Linked DNA regions of Homo sapiens: regions 1, 2, 4 and 5 are each linked to region 3. Evidence: promoter capture Hi-C in 16 types of primary human blood cells and fetal thymus (Javierre and others, 2016). All regions are on one chromosome and are shown on one strand. Each heading gives the region's core, a stretch centred on a gene start or on the middle of the fragment in contact. The rest is flanking DNA. Distances are from core to core; before and after follow the strand shown.

Evidence for each region. Contacts are between HindIII fragments. The CHiCAGO score rates a contact against its expected background, and 5 or more counts as called.
Region 1: a contact is called between a fragment that was not itself captured here and the fragment with the promoter of TUBGCP3 in region 3, in 1 of 17 cell types (endothelial precursors). The highest score is 5.4, in endothelial precursors.
Region 2: a fragment that was not itself captured here is called in contact with the fragment with the promoter of TUBGCP3 in region 3 in 2 of 17 cell types (M1 macrophages and endothelial precursors); the score reaches 7.1 in M1 macrophages.
Region 4: a contact is called between a fragment that was not itself captured here and the fragment with the promoter of TUBGCP3 in region 3, in 1 of 17 cell types (naive CD8 T cells). The highest score is 5.3, in naive CD8 T cells.
Region 5: a contact is called between a fragment that was not itself captured here and the fragment with the promoter of TUBGCP3 in region 3, in 1 of 17 cell types (M1 macrophages). The highest score is 5.2, in M1 macrophages.

The regions. Positions count from the first base shown.
Region 1 is chr13:111,473,296-111,476,074 of GRCh38, reverse strand. No RefSeq gene overlaps it. Among named protein-coding and RNA genes, the nearest start is that of LINC02337, 120 kb to the left of the region's middle. RefSeq lists an enhancer at 709-1,209. The HindIII fragment of the contact is 7,350 bases long and covers 1-2,779 here.
Region 2 is chr13:111,285,112-111,288,098 of GRCh38, reverse strand. ARHGEF7 (Rho guanine nucleotide exchange factor 7) reads right to left here. Exons shown (of 22, transcript NM_001354046.2): 17 at 1,859-1,952. Among named protein-coding and RNA genes, the nearest start is that of TEX29, 34 kb to the left of the region's middle. The HindIII fragment of the contact is 3,119 bases long and covers 1-2,818 here.
Region 3 is chr13:112,586,300-112,589,434 of GRCh38, reverse strand. TUBGCP3 (tubulin gamma complex component 3) reads left to right here and starts at 1,282. Exons shown (of 22, transcript NM_006322.6): 1 at 1,282-1,530. The coding sequence starts at 1,455. It overlaps LOC124903251 (a long non-coding RNA gene), which reads right to left and starts at 1,249. Exons shown (of 2, transcript XR_007063945.1): 1 at 19-1,249. RefSeq lists an enhancer at 467-1,286 and silencers at 1,352-1,571, 1,602-1,661, 1,692-1,811. The HindIII fragment of the contact is 2,856 bases long and covers 695-3,135 here.
Region 4 is chr13:111,150,375-111,153,402 of GRCh38, reverse strand. All of the region lies in intron 1 of ARHGEF7 (Rho guanine nucleotide exchange factor 7), which reads right to left. LOC101060553 (a long non-coding RNA gene) reads left to right here. Exons shown (of 2, transcript NR_120398.1): 1 at 1-3,028. Among named protein-coding and RNA genes, the nearest start is that of ARHGEF7-AS1, 3.3 kb to the right of the region's middle. The HindIII fragment of the contact is 835 bases long and covers 881-1,715 here.
Region 5 is chr13:111,168,267-111,171,258 of GRCh38, reverse strand. All of the region lies in intron 2 of ARHGEF7 (Rho guanine nucleotide exchange factor 7), which reads right to left. Among named protein-coding and RNA genes, the nearest start is that of ARHGEF7-AS1, 21 kb to the right of the region's middle. The HindIII fragment of the contact is 2,413 bases long and covers 138-2,550 here.

The DNA.
Region 1 (2,779 bases), core at 128-2,627, 1.1 Mb after region 3:
CTCATCATCACCCAAGCAATTCATCTGTCCACTAAGACAAGGGCCCTCCAAGCCCGTGGGAGGCCTACAGGGCTGGCTCGGCCCTTTCTTAGCTCCTGTCCCTCCTCACTCTTCTGCAGAGCTCACCATGACTTCTTGCTCTTACAGCTCAGATAGTATCTGTTTAAACTTCAAAATATTGATGGCAGAGGCATTACTGCTGCCATTCTAGAGATACAGGAGCAAGATGGACGATCAGGACACTTCCCAGGGTGATCCAGGAATCACGAGTGTGGCTGGGACTTAAGTGCAGCTCTACCTAAAGCCTGCACATCCAGTCACCTCGCCGCCCTCCCAGCCCCCAGCAGGACAGCTAGGCCCACCCTGGGCCACTCTCAGCCCAGAGCTTCTGGAATCAGTATCAACCCAGTAAATAAGATGACAACACGTTAATGGAATCAGTGCCACCCACACGCTTCTGCTGGAACAAGTGGAAAAGAGGCGTGAAACTGTTTCATGAGCAATAAATACAATCCAGAGATGGTCCCTATTTCTAAGGTAAAGTGGCAAAGCATGGGAATTATAGGGATTGCACCCGGGGCCCTCTGCTACCTCCGTCAGCACCATCCCTCCCCTGTCTCCTGGGGTCCTCTCCAGCCTATGGAGAGTCACCCCGACAGCATCCCTGGTGTGGACGCGATGTGGCTCTGCAGTTATATTAACAAATGTTGGCTGGGAGTGGTGGCTCACACCTGTAATCCCAGCACTTTGAGATGCTGAGGCGGGCGGATCACAAGGTCAGGAGTTCGAGACCAGCCTGACCAACATGGTGAAACCCTGTCTCTATTAAAAATACAAAAATTAGCTGGGCGTGGTGGCGCACGTCTGAGTAGCCTCCAGCTACTCAGGAGGCTGAGGCAGGAAAATCACTTGAACCCGGGAGGCGGAGGTTGCAGTGAGCTGAGATCGCACCACTGTACTCCAGCCTGTGCAACAGAGCGAGACTCCGTGTCAAAAAAATAAATTAAAATAAATAAAAATGTCATCGCCCTCAGGCAGAACCACGCTGAACAAAGCCCTGTAAAGCCTCCCCTGTTCCTGCAACAAATCCTGCACAGATGGAGCCCGAGGTGTTGCCGGAAGCAGAGGAACCTGAGTGCTGAGACCCCAGCGTGGGGCCCCTCCCCGGTCCCTCAGCAGCAGCTCCGCGTCCCACGCCTGCACTGCAGTGGCCTCCTGCACAAGCGAGGGTGCCAGCAGAGTTGGGATTGCAAGGCAGGCAAGTTGGGGGAGCTTTCAGAGTCAGGCCTCCCCAAGGAGCCTGGGGACCAGAGCTGCCCATATCAGCACACAGGACCACAGCCTTCTCCGGCACCTCAGCCAAGCCTCAAATCCTAGACAGGACTCCCTTCTCTGGATCCACCTGCCCAGCAGCACATTTATTTTAAGAGGGATTTTACTGACATCTGGTGGCAAGACAAGAAACCTCACTCTTTAGAAATACCAGATCCAGGGATTTAATCAGCCTCCATCAGAGACCATGAGCTCTAGAATAAAAAGGAAGCCAAGAGAAGAAATGCAGGGTTCCAGGACACTCACAGCTCCCGCCTCCCTAACAGGCACCAAGAAAGTGGGTGAAGCCGGAACTCGCTTGTATCCCCTGGCACCTGCGTCCCAGTCCGGCAGCAACGTCGCTTCCATCCACAACAACGAACACCTTTAGAAAACTCCCCAGCTTGGGACAGTGACTCCCTGGAGCCTTGTTCCCGAGCACTCGGGGTTTCCTGACCCCTCACTGGGGCTGCAGCTTCCCTCTGGCGGAGGGGGACCTCGACACTCCCCGAATTGGCCCCTGTCCCATAGCAGGAGGTCTCCTACCAGCCCCACATCAAAGTTGCAGGGAACAAGCACAGGTGACCTTGTGGTCCAAGCGTGAATGGATAGAGCCTTGTTTCACCCCACGACAACATTAAGGTGCAAACACTGGTGTGATTATAAGACATTTTCATGCACCCGTAGCTTATCAATGAAACACTTTAAAAACATGACCAGGCCTCAGTACCAAGTGCAAATCTACACTCACTAATCAGAACCTCCCCCTAAAAAAGACTAGGTCTTGTCTGGACAAAAGGGTAAAAAGTTGGACTTCTAGGCCGGGCGTGGTGGCTCACGCCTGTAATCCCAGTACTTTGGGAGGCCAAGGCAGATGGATCACTTGAGGTCAGAAGTTTAAGACGAGCTTGGCCGACATTGTGAAACCCCATCTCTACTAAAAGTACAAAAAAAATTAGCCAGGCATGGTGGTGGGTGCCCCTAATCCCAGCTACTCTGGAGGCCGAGGCAGGAAAATCAATTACTTGAACCTGGGAGGTGGAGGTTGCCGTGAGCCGAGACTGCACCACCGCCCTCCAACCTGGGCAACAGAGCAAGACTCTGCCTCAAAAAAAAAAAAAAAAAAAAAAAGTTGGACTTCCAGTCCAAAGTGAAGGACTTACTTTTCATTGACAAATGGGACAATACAAAGAGTATGCAGTCTGAACACAGCCATTCACACCCACTTAGACACACTCCTAGAAAATGGGCCCAATGTGAACAGCTGTGCTTGGCTGGGGCTGTTGTAGGTAATCACGTTCTTCATGTACTTTCTACATGTGTACTTTTTCCAGGTTGGCACAGCCCCCTGGCCTCCGCTTCATGCCTGCCTGGCCCCGTCTCATTGCAGCAGGCAGAAGTCCTGGTGGAAAGCCCCTGCTCTCAGTCCCTGCCCTGCCCGCACACGGCCTGCAGTGGGCTCAGCACT
Region 2 (2,987 bases), core at 10-2,509, 1.3 Mb after region 3:
CCAACCCGTAAGAAAATTAGTATCCCCACTCTCAAACTGAAAAAAGGGCAGGAGATAGGAATAAGGAAGTCACAAAACAAGAAGAGTTCTAAGAAAAAATGTCCAATCTCGCTAAAACAAGAAATGAAAATTAAAACATTTTCGTGTTTCCACACGCCAGCCAGATGAAAACAAAAGGCCGACAACTCTCAGTGTCGACGTGGCCATCCGTGCCTGTCTGTTCCCCACACGGCAGCCCGTGGTCCTGTGAAAACCCGGGCCCATCATCTTGTCTATGGAACCGGACTCTGGCTGCCTGCTGCTCAGGGTGCTGTGCTACCTCCCGCTCTGCCAGGGGAGCTTGGGCCCACACAGCGCACTGTCCCTTGGGCACAGCCTGGGGTTCCTGCTCAGGGTCTCTGCAACCAGGCCTGGAGAGCTCCTCCCCAGACACCTGCTTGGCCTGCTTCCTCAGCCCCAGGAGGCTGCTCAAATGGCGCCCTGGCACCGAATCTCCCACCTGTCCTCCCCACTGGGTCTCTGCAGCACTCCATGGCCCACACATTGTTCACTTGTTTTGTTTCTTGTCTGTATCCTCCTACTAAAACATAGGCTCTATGAGAACAGGGATCTCTTTCGGCCACACTGTATCCTTCCCACCCAGCCCACGAAGGTGCTGATGAAGCACGCGTCCATGAACGATGGTCTCAGCTGCAGCCGGCCCCCGGCCCAGCTCAGTGCTGCCCCTGGATCTGCTGAAGGAAGTGGCCCACAGAACAGCCCTCTCAGAGAGAAGCCCCGGCACAGCCAGTAAGCAACAGAGCAGGCATCCAGCACCAGCTCCACTTCAATCACTAGACCCCAGGGCCTCACCATCTCATCAGGGGCCCTGGTGGTCAGGGACCTGGACTACCTAAGGAGAAGGACAGTCAGGATGGTGACTTATACTGCCATGGACATCAGGTGACAAGGACAAGAAAAGAATGAACACCCCAGCACGGTCACCTCACTGGGCTGATTGATGATAAGGTGGCGGTGAGGGGAGGCCAGCAGTGGCATGGCACAGTGAGCGTGTGGGACGGCTGCTGGGCCTCCTCCTGAGGCTGGAGGAAGTGAGCAGTGAAGGCAAAGGACCAACAAAGGCTGAGCTCAGACACAGGGGCGGGGCAGGGCAGAGCCCTGTAGGACAGATCCTGCAACTTTCCCAGAGCTGGCTCTCTCTCCCTGGGCTGCACCCATCAGTCCACAGCAATCTGTTCACGTGCACCCCTTCCCAGCAGTCACCCCCAGGAAAATCACTTACTTCTGAAAAGAGCTCCACTTATTCAAAAGCTATCTACCGAGCACCTAACAGGTGCCAGGTGCTTGCTGCGAGGCCACATAGGAACCCAGAGCTGAGTCAGACCCCTAGGCCTGAGGAGCAGACAGGACAGGTCCAACAGCAGAGAGACCAGCAAGAGAACAGCACGGGTGGGTGCTACCCACAGGAGAACACAGCAGGTCACGCTTCTAACAGACACAGGGTGCTTTGGGAGATGCTGGCACTTCAGGAAGTGTGGGTGGAATATCTTATAGGCGAGAGGGAGAACCAGAAGAGCAGGAGAGCCCTCCAGGTCCGGCCCCAGCTCCTGGATGAGGAAGGGGCTATAAGGCAGTGGTGCCGGGACTGGCACGGAGGCTTCACCACTGACACAAAGGCGCTTCTCCTGCTTGCTTGGGTAAATGTTACGTGGCTTATTCCTATCACTGCCTCAAGGGGCAGACCTTACTTTTGTTTGGAGTCTTCAGAAAGCCACCAAGCCTCCCTCTATCCCAGGAAAGCCATGGCCTACGTGACCAGGAGGCCACGTCCTCCACCACACGGACCGCAGGTACTCACTTTTCCGGGACGCGAACTCCTCATCTGAAGGCTTCCGTTCAGGTTTGCGCTTGGGCAGCAGCTTTTTCATGGTCTTAGGGCTCTTACTAAGATCCTAGGGAAAGACAAAAGAAAATGCTAACATACTCTAAAGCCAATCATTTTCACTGGCATATCAGAAAGGCTGCTGTAAAGGTATAAAACCCCAAATTATTATAGCCACTGATAAGAGCTTCTCGCCTTTTCCTACTTTGATTTTTCTTTACCAGCTTCTGAACGTTAATTTTTAAAAATCAATAGGGCATTTTCAGTATTAGTCATTGGCTAATTTTTTTTTTTTAATTCTAATAAAACCCCTCGTGTCATTTGGGTCCTGTTAGTCCTGTGATGAGAGGTGTCACCAGGAGGCAGGCTGGCGCTGGTGTGCACAGACATCCTGCACGCTCCTGAGGGAGGAGGAGAGGAGGGGGCAGCTGCTCCCTAGGACAGACCTATCCCCTGGCACAGCTAACTGGAAAGAGAGGAGGAAACTAAGGTTGTCATTAAATGACAGATAAGTAAAAAATAATTGCTTTAAGAAAATATTTGAAGTTTCAGGGAGAAGAAAAGGGAGCGAGTGCTCAGCTACCTGACTCTGAGTGCCAGGAGCACAGCCAAGCTCGGCCAGGGCTGCTGTGCAGGGGCCACATGCACACCAGCTCAGAGTGTTCACAACGGAATGGCCCACCCCTTACCTCTTCAAACAGCTTTTCAAACAAGCACAGAAGACGACGGCAAAAAACAAAGTGAGCAAAGCAAGTCCCAACAGAGCAGGTAAGGTGTCAACTGTCAAGCACGTGTTAAATACCGATATCAAAAAAAGGCTGGTTTCTGCATCACCCCAACGACATAAACCATCACGAATGCTAAACGCGAGACCAAGACTCAGAAGATGAGATGTGCTATGGAATGAACCAGGCTGGAAACAGAGGAAACAAAGCTTGGTTTTTAAAATTATCTTTAAAAGTCTTTTCTTGGGAGCTAAACAATGGGTACACATGGACATGACCATGGAAATGACAGACCCTGGGGACTCCAAAAGGCGGAAGGTGATGGGGGTGAGTTTTGAAAAGCTACCCATTGGGTACAATGTTTCCTATTTGGGTAATAG
Region 3 (3,135 bases), core at 33-2,532:
GCATAACCAGTGTAATACCTTCCAGCTGCATCTTTAAGTAAGAGCCATCTGTAAACCAAATAACATCAGCGTTAGTGAGGGGGGTTCTTGCATGTCTGTCCTAGGAGAGAGCTGGTCAGGTAAGATGATGCAGTCATGCAGCGTTTCAGCTGAAGGTGGGGGAGAGGGTGGCAGGATTTAGATGACATCTGGACATTGTAGTATGCGGCTGAGAGAATAACTTCATGAGAAGCCAGTTACTAACTGATCGTGTTGAGTGTGATGCAAGTTTAGAAGCGTTTCCACAGAATGCGTATCGAAGGCAGTGAGGGGTGATCGCATCCTTGGTGGTTTGGTTGCTCTTGCAGAGCTGTGATGGTTGTTGCATCATGCAAGGAGACAGTCCTTTAGCTGTAGGGTCTAGTTGTTGACTGTAATACCCTACAAGTCTGCTTTGTCTCCATGTTTTTGAGTCAGAACGACAACAAACGTTTTACTTGCCAACAATTCTGCAACCTGAGCTGGACCCAGGCCCGACGGGCTTTGCAGACAGTCACGTGTGTGGCTGGCCTCAGCTGGGATGTTGGGATAGCTGGGTTGTCCTCCCTCTTCCATTTCATAGGATCTCGGGATCTCTTTCCATCATTTTTCCTTAGGAAGTTGGCCTTTTAACATGGTAGCTCACGGCTCCCAAGCGTGCACCCATGTGTAAGCTTTAACGATTGCACTGAAGTTGGCTTGGTGTAATTGTCTGCTTATCGATCTTTTTCTCGGCAGGTTTCCTGTTCTCTCACTCCGTACGTGATTAATTTATTTTCCCAGGACGTCCCAGTTACCCGGGCCGGGGGGGACCGGCCCGCGCGGCAGTGCGAGGTCGGGCCTGAGCAGGGCGCCTGTTGGATAGCGTAGCAGGTGAACTGCCCACTGCACGTTAACAATCGTAACACCCTGCACCCTTTAAACAGGCTTCTTTTTTCTTTTCTTTTTTAAACAGGCTTCTTTCATCAGAAGTGTGAATCAAACCAATGCCGTTAACACACACACCCCCACACCCACACACCAAATTATGGCCTTTATGGTGCTACCGGCCACCAAGTGCCCTCCAAGCAAGCCCGTCACGCTCGCGACTCCGGGGCCGCTCTGTCCGCGCAGCTCGAGGGCCTCGGGCCACCTGTCGCCCGGAACTTTCTCGGCCGACCGGGCAGCAGCAGGGGGAATGCACCAGACAGGGCCGGGAACGCTTAGGCAGCCGCACGCGCGGCCGCGGCGCAGGGAAGAAGCGGGGCATTGTGGGAAGCGCCCGCGCTTTCGGCGGGTTCCGTTAAAATGGCGCCCTGGTGGCCGGCGGCGCCCGCGCCTTAGCCTGTCAGGAGCAGGGAGCTTGCGGGGCGCAGGAAGGGCGCGGGCCGCGGTCCCTGCGCGTGCGGCGGCAGTGGCGGCTCTGCCCGGACCACCGTGCACGGCTCCGGGCGAGGATGGCGACCCCGGACCAGAAGTCGCCGAACGTTCTGCTGCAGAACCTGTGCTGCAGGATCCTGGGCAGGAGCGAAGGTAGAGTGGCCGGGCGACGCGAAGCCCGCAGACCCGTCCCGGGGGCTGCTCCCTGCGCGTGCAGCCCTAATACGTTCCGGGGCTGGAGGAACGAGGATGCAGGGCCGGGCAGAGGGCTGGGGGACGGGCCGAGGACGTGGGGCCCGGACGAGGGAGCGGAGGGCTGGGGTTCGAGGGTCAGGGAGCCGGGGAGGACAGCGGAGGGCTGGGGGCCAGGACCGGGGCGGAGGGAGTGGAGAGGCCAAGGCCGGGGCGAGAACGCCGGGGCGGGAGGCGGGAGGGCGGAGCCGAGCCGGAGCGGGCTGAGTCACCGCTCACTCCGCTCGCGGGTCCGTCAGTGAGGACGGGAGGAATGCCAGCTCGCCAATTTATCCCCCTTCTCTGGTGTCACGCGCCGTGGGAGGGCGCCTCTGCGCGCCTTTGGGTTCATCCTGTGGGGTGGAGAGAGCGGCTGCGCCGCGGAGGTGGATGCGGGGTGCTGGAGTGTCACATCATCGTCCCTTTTCGTTAGGAAAGTTTAACAGGCTTGAGTATTATGGGAAGAGGGTGTTAACGACTGTAACTGCCGTGTTTTCCTACTGTTTAAAGGGTTGAAGGTTGGATTTGATATAAAACTATTCTGGGAAAGTTCACATGGCGAATATTGTTACTAATAAGCAAAACTAATCCTATACGGTAGGTAAAACCATTTTGTAGTCGAGGTACTTTGAAAGAAATGGTACAGGATGCCATTTCTTGCTCCTTGTTTTGGCCAGGTTGGTGGGGCAGAGAGTGAGGATGCACCATGAGGGAATTTTCTGAGTAATGGAAGCAACTGAGTTACATCTTAAGCACCAAAATGTGGAAAAGAAGTTACTCAATTTTTGAAGGAAGACTTCAAAGTTACATTTAAAGTACTGAGAATGCATTTTGACCTTTCATGCTTCATGACAATTACTGTACATAATTCATTGGATGTTCTATGATAATCTTGGGGCAATCATGAATAATTTTGTGTCGCTATTAAATGAGTGACTTCACACAGTTCTTGCTGCATCTTGTAAAGTTTGATTCTATCACTTTATTTATCTAAGAAATCTTTGAGGACAACCCCGTCCTCAAAGTTCCCCCCGGGAACTGTGCTAAGTGCTGGTGATGCAGATGCACAAGTCATTCCTCCCACAGATCTGACAGACACTCTACTGGAAGAGACAGATGATAAACCAGCCATGTTAATTAGCAATAAGTACTGTGGCGAAAAAGTAGGGTAAAGGAATAGAGAGGGAAGAGGCAGGTGAGGGAAAGCCTCTGAGATATTTAAAGAGACCTGAATGGAGTAAGGGAGGGCCATTTGAACATCTGGGGAAGGTTCTGAGTAGAGAGAACCAGTGGAAAGGTCTTGAGGTATGAGCATGGCCTGCCATCGTTTGTTTTTGTCATTAGCAGACTGAGTTTCCTTTCACATGTTTCATGTTCCTCGTCATAGGGGGAATCAGATAAAACTAAGATTGTTAGGACTTACCCACCTTAATGTCAGTGTTTTCCTTATACCAGTGGTTCCAGAGTTTTTTTTTCTAGGGATAAACCACACATTCATACATTCCCATTGTTATAATTGGATTTTGA
Region 4 (3,028 bases), core at 49-2,548, 1.4 Mb after region 3:
CTCCGCGCTCGGCCTCCTCCCTGCTCCAGGTCCTTGGCCTGGCCCCGCAGACACAGCGCACCCGCTCGGCCCCTAGCGCAGACACCGCCGCCTCTTGGCGCCAGGTCCTCGGCCTCTCCCAAGTGGACGCAGCCTGGCCCAGAGGGGCCCCAGAGAACTCGGGCGGCTTGAGTAACCCCTGATCGTTGGGAGAGAACCTGGGATTTTTTCCCTTCTTTCTAGCCTAGGCTCATGGAGAGCGCAGTTACTATTCTAATGCAATGACTTAAAATAATTAAGCAACATAAATTATGCATGTTGGGATTAAGGTGCAATGTTTTCCCAAATATAAGCCACGCGCTTCATGAATGATTAACCGAAATAGTTAACATGAAAACCAGTAAGTCAGCTGAGAAGAAATTGTGGATCCACCGCAGTGGAGGAGCGCAGGAAGGCGCCTACAGACTCCCTAGTGCTTTAGTCCAAGGTAGAATTGTGAGGGCCACCAGCAACACATGTAAGGTGTTTGGACCTTACCCACGGCAAGAAACTAAGGAAACCAGAAACAGTACCAATTACTAGAAAATTTTAAGAAGCCTGAGGCATACGAAAAACTTTATTTTGTTTTTTGCTCTAAGGATTATTTTAACTGTAAGAAAACTTATGTTCCAAATTACATGTGAAGACATTAAGCGTTGACATTTAAACTAATGCGTCATCTAGAACTCTAGCATTTGAGGACATTAAAGGCATTTTTGTCCTTCTGTACTGTAGGAGAAAATCACGACATTTCACCAGGCTACTCAGGAATACTGTGGTTTCATTTTATGGTGCTCAGGTGTTTTAAAATTATACATCAAAACCAAGTGTTCAGCAATGCCAAAAGGGATGAAATGAAGCTTTTTTCTTTCTATAGTTGAAAAATTCCTTCAAGCAAGTGCTGACATGTTTCCATCGAAACTGTACATTTTTTCAGTGGAATGGCAAAAGCAAAGCTGCTTCCTAATCCGTTTTGCTCTTTAAAATAATTTTCAAAAATTATCACATATCTAGGTAATACCTAATTTTTTTCTTCATAGTTTTAAATAGTTGTAAAGGATGTAATTTCTGACATTCTGATGACATTTTTAAATTAAACCATTGCATCCTTTATAAAAAATATATCCAATAGAATCTAAGTGTAATAGAAACATAATACCCATTTCTCCATCTAAAAAGTTTCTGAACAAGTCAGACATTAATTCTTTCTCCTTTAATTCATTCCACTTCACCCAAAAAGTTGTATCCTCATATAGTCTATTTTTATGCTTGAAACACACTCTTTTTTGGCAAGTAACCTCTACAAATACAGTCAATCATCATTCAAAGAGTCTGTATTTATGAACTCAGCTACTTGGCTAAAAATTATGTGTAACCCAAAAATCAATACTTGAAGCACTCTCAGTCATATATGGACACAAGCAGAACAGTGAAAAATTTGGATCACCTTATGTACACGTTCCCAGCTGTGCTTGAATAAGGCCATGCTCTGCCTTTTTTTTTTAGTTCTCATTCTGTAAACATATGTCCTCTTCTCACTCTACTTAGTGTCACATTTTTCAAATTTCTATGCTTTCCGATGGTGATTTCTGTTTCAAATGGCCCCCAAACGTAGTGCTGAAATGCTGTCTAATGTCCCTAAGCGCAAGAAGGCTGTGATGTGTCTTAACAGAGAAAATACATGTGTTAGATAAGCTTTGTTCGGGCATGAGTTATAGTGCTGTTGGCCATGAGTTCAATGTTAATGAATCAACAATACAGTGCATTCACATCTGTACATGAGGCTGCTCCAGAAAGTGCTAAAGTAACATCTATAGTGTGTGATGAAGCTATGGAAAAGATGGAAAAGCAGCTAAAATTGTGGATTCATGAGACGACAACCAATAAAAAAAGTCATATATGGACTTTTGTAGTGTAGTGAGCAGTATTGTTGTGAGGCTGAAAGCCAAAGAAATTTACAGCCATGTTACCCAAGGTCAGGAAAATATTAAACCCTTCTCAGCCAGTGCAGGCTGGCTGGCACGTTTCAAAAGGCGGTACAGCATGAAATCAAATTTTAAACTTGCAGGCAAGGCAGGTTCTGCCATAAGGAGGCTGCGGAAGAATTTTTAAAATGTCTGCTAAGTGTTATACGTGAAAAGGGTTAAAGGGTTATGGTAAAGAGCAGGTTTTCAATGCTGATGAGACTGCTTGTTTTATAAGAATGTTGGCAAATGAACCTATGTAATGTAAATGGTCACACGAGCCCCTGACTTTAAAGCATTCAACCTTGCTATTGTGCACCAATGCCAAGGGCGACTTTAAGTGCAAACCTCTGATGGTGTACAGAGCCCAAAACCCATGAGCCCTTAAAGGGAAAAATCTGAACTGCATGCCAGTCCATTGGCGGTAGAACAGAAAAGCATGGCTGGTATCTGAAATATTCTGGGATTGGTTCCACCACTGCTTCATTCCAGAAGTTGAACGATATCTCTAGGGCAAAAACCTTGCTTTCTGGGTCTTATTAATTTTGGATAATGCCCCAGTTCATTGCACGATGAACTTGAAAATGCTCACCCCAACAAAGAAGTTCTTTTCATGCCCCCAATACTACATCTCTCGTCCAGCCCCTCAGGGCATAATACAAACTTTCAAGGCACACTACACGAGGGAACTTTATTGTAAAGCTTGTGAGGCTCTTGACGCCAACAAGGAAGCCACCATGACAGACTACTGGAAATCACTCACTATACGCAGCATTATTGATTATGTTGGCACAGCGTGGGACAGCATCAAGCAGGCTACTATCAATAACTGCTGGGAAAACATTTGGCCAGACTCTGTGAAAACTTTTCAAGGCTTTGAAGGTGTTTCAGAAAATATAAAAAACAATGTAAAAAAACAATGCATATTGCAAGGCAAATAAGTGGAGAAGGTTTCAATGACATGAAGGAAGAAGATGTGGAGGAAATTTTGTCAGAGAAGGCAGTAGAACCCACAAACAAAAACCTGGATGAGATGGCAAAACATG
Region 5 (2,992 bases), core at 95-2,594, 1.4 Mb after region 3:
CAGTTTAAACTATCTTAGCCTCCTCATCACAAACAAAATGCTGTGGAAAAAACCGTACCTTCCTCAGGCTAATTCCATTTGGTTATACAGAGCCCTGAACAAAAGTAACTCTAAGAGTGCATTGGTGAGCTTAAGCTTAAAGTAAAAGCCAGTTCTTTCATTTGAGTTCAAGCCCTTGTTTAACAGATTTCAAACAATAATTTTAAAAAAAGAAAATCCAGTGCACACAAAATTCTTAGTTCCCTATTTTATGATGGATATTTGGTATGCATGCATTTTTCTTATGGACACAAACAACAGAAAAAGGATAAAATGCTTTTAAAAATTAAAGATAACCACTGCTGCTTTTTATATCTGCAACAGAAAAGACTGAGACTGATTATCTGTTATCTGCCATAAATTAAATTCCCAAATCAAACTTCTTGTCCCAAGTACCCAACAAGCAGGTCTCCCATTTTTACCTCAAACACACAGCAGCAGGCTCTGCTTCCAGGGGCCTGGGCACCATCCGTCATCAGAGTTCTCCCAAGTCCTCCCAGAGCGGAGCCAGACCCTTGGGGTAGCCACCATCATCTCCCAACAAGGAACCTTCTAGAACCTTCCAGAAAGTGAATCTGGCCTAAGGGTAACACACAGCACTTTCCCCGGCCACTTAGCACTGCATTCAGTAAAGGCAGGAAGGCTTGAGTGAGCAGCCTTGTGCAAGGCCGTTGATAACGCCAGTAACATGATCAATTCTCACCCAGCTTCCCTACATAAGAGATAAAATAAGAAGAAATTCCAGTAAGAAGGAAGAAAATGGTCAACAGAAGAGCAATTCTGACGTCCACGTTTGGTCTTCCTCAGAAGATTGACTAACTGCGCCAGGCACGGTGGCTCACGCCTATAATCCCAGCACTTTGGGAGGCCAAGGCGGGTGGATCACTTAAGGCCAGGAGTTCAAGACCAGCCTGGCCAACATGGCAAGACCTCGTCTCTATTAAAAATACAAAAATTAGCCAGGCATGGTGGTACATGCCTGTAATCTCAGCTACTCGAGAGGTTGAGGCATGAGTACTGCTTGATCCCAGGAGGCAGAGGTTACAGTGGGCTGAAATCACACCACTGCACTCCAGCAGGGAGAACAGAGCAAGACTCTGTCTACAAAAAAAGAAGAGTGGCTAGCTTGTATCACGTTGGCTGTGAGAGCAAATCCTAAAAGCGTCACCTCTGCAGAGGGGCCTTCTCTGATCACCCAATCTCTAAAAGCGTCACCTCTGCAGAGGGGCCTGCTCTGATCACCCAATCTAAGTCAGCACTCAGGTGCTCTCTCACCTCACCCCCTGATATTCTGCAGTTGTTGCGCATGACAGTTTTATTTGTTCACACGCTCATTCCTTTGCTTAAGTGTCTCCCCAACTAGAATTACACTCCCTAAGAGCAGGGCCCCTCCTCCCTTACTCACCAAGCCACCTCCAGCAACTAGAACGGTGTCTAGCAAACAGAGGTGATCATTAAATGTTCATTACTGTAACAGCATAAATATATTTTACAGTAAGAATGACTCCAAAGTTAAAAATATAATTCCACCAAAAAATCTTCCAATAATGTCTCACAAGCAAGGTCCTGGTTACCAACGCAAGGACCAGGAAGAAGCCTCTGGCTGATGTGGCTTGGTTCTCATGTCGAAGTATAATCCCCAATGTTGGAGGTGGGGCCTGGTGGGAGGTGACTGGATCGTGAGGGGCAGATTTCCCCTTGGTGCTGTTCTCGTGATGATGAGTGTGTGCTGGTGAGATATGGTTGTTTCAAGGTGTGTGGCACCTCCCCACTCCCTTGCTCCTGCTCCGGCCAGTTAAGACGAGCCTGCTTCCCCTTTGCCTTCCACCACGATTGTAAGTTTCCTGAGGCCTCTCCAGAAACAGGGCAGATGACAACATCATGCTTCCTGTACACCCTGTGGAACCATGAGCCCATTAAACCTCTTTTCTTTATAAATTACCCAGTCTCAGGTATTTATAGCCATGTGAGAACAGACTAATACAGTGGCATTAACGACCTCTGCAATTCTCTCCTAACACACGACTTTCTTCTCTTCCCAACAATGCCAAGTGACTTTTTTAAGGATTAAGTAAACTAGTACATGTTAAACGGATTTGCCTCTGCCTGGCACAACCCCACAGTAAGCATCCCCAAACTTAACCGCTACTATTGTCATTATTTGTTACCTAAGCCAACTTCCCGAATTACTGAACACCAAAAAGTTCAGAACTACTGATTAAAAGAGAAATGATAAGGTCTGCTTCAAATTGTGAATACTGAGTTGCTGTCTGCATCCTCTCTGGCACAGGCATCAAAGAACATATTATAGAAGCAATGTCACCTACCCTCCTCATGTCATCCAACACTCCTGGCTTCCATAAACACTTCACTGGCGATCAGTCATCAAGGAACCTATTCTCTCAACACAGCATCACTTTCTTGGAGTCAACATATCAAAACCACAAAACTATGCCATTTTTACATCTTTAATATTTCCTTTGTTTAGTTTCAAAAATCATCTCTCAAGCTTCAAAAAACTAAACCCAAGTTTTGTGATTCTGTGATTTTTTTCTGGGGGTGGGAATGGACAATTTACTGAAACCCTTTCATAGCCTTCAAAACTGTATAATCTATAAGGATATCCCTTTTCAATCATTACCTTTCAAGACTGAACCTGAACAATTCTTGCCTATTTTATCCACCTCTATGCAGAAACCCTGGTATTTCCCTGTTAATATTCCAAGTTCTTGGAACATTCTGAGAACATAAAGACATGGAAGGAAAAGTGTCAACTCTCCACTCGTGTTTATCCTCAAGGCAGCATGAAGCTTGAAGAAATCTGCAGGAGGCGGGGACTCTGAGCCTGGAATGGCAACAGCTGCTAGGTGGCTGGGCAGGCCTGGAGGGGACCCACACCCCTGCCTCACACAGCTGTCGCACAGTGGGGCCTCACACAGCTGTCGCACACCGC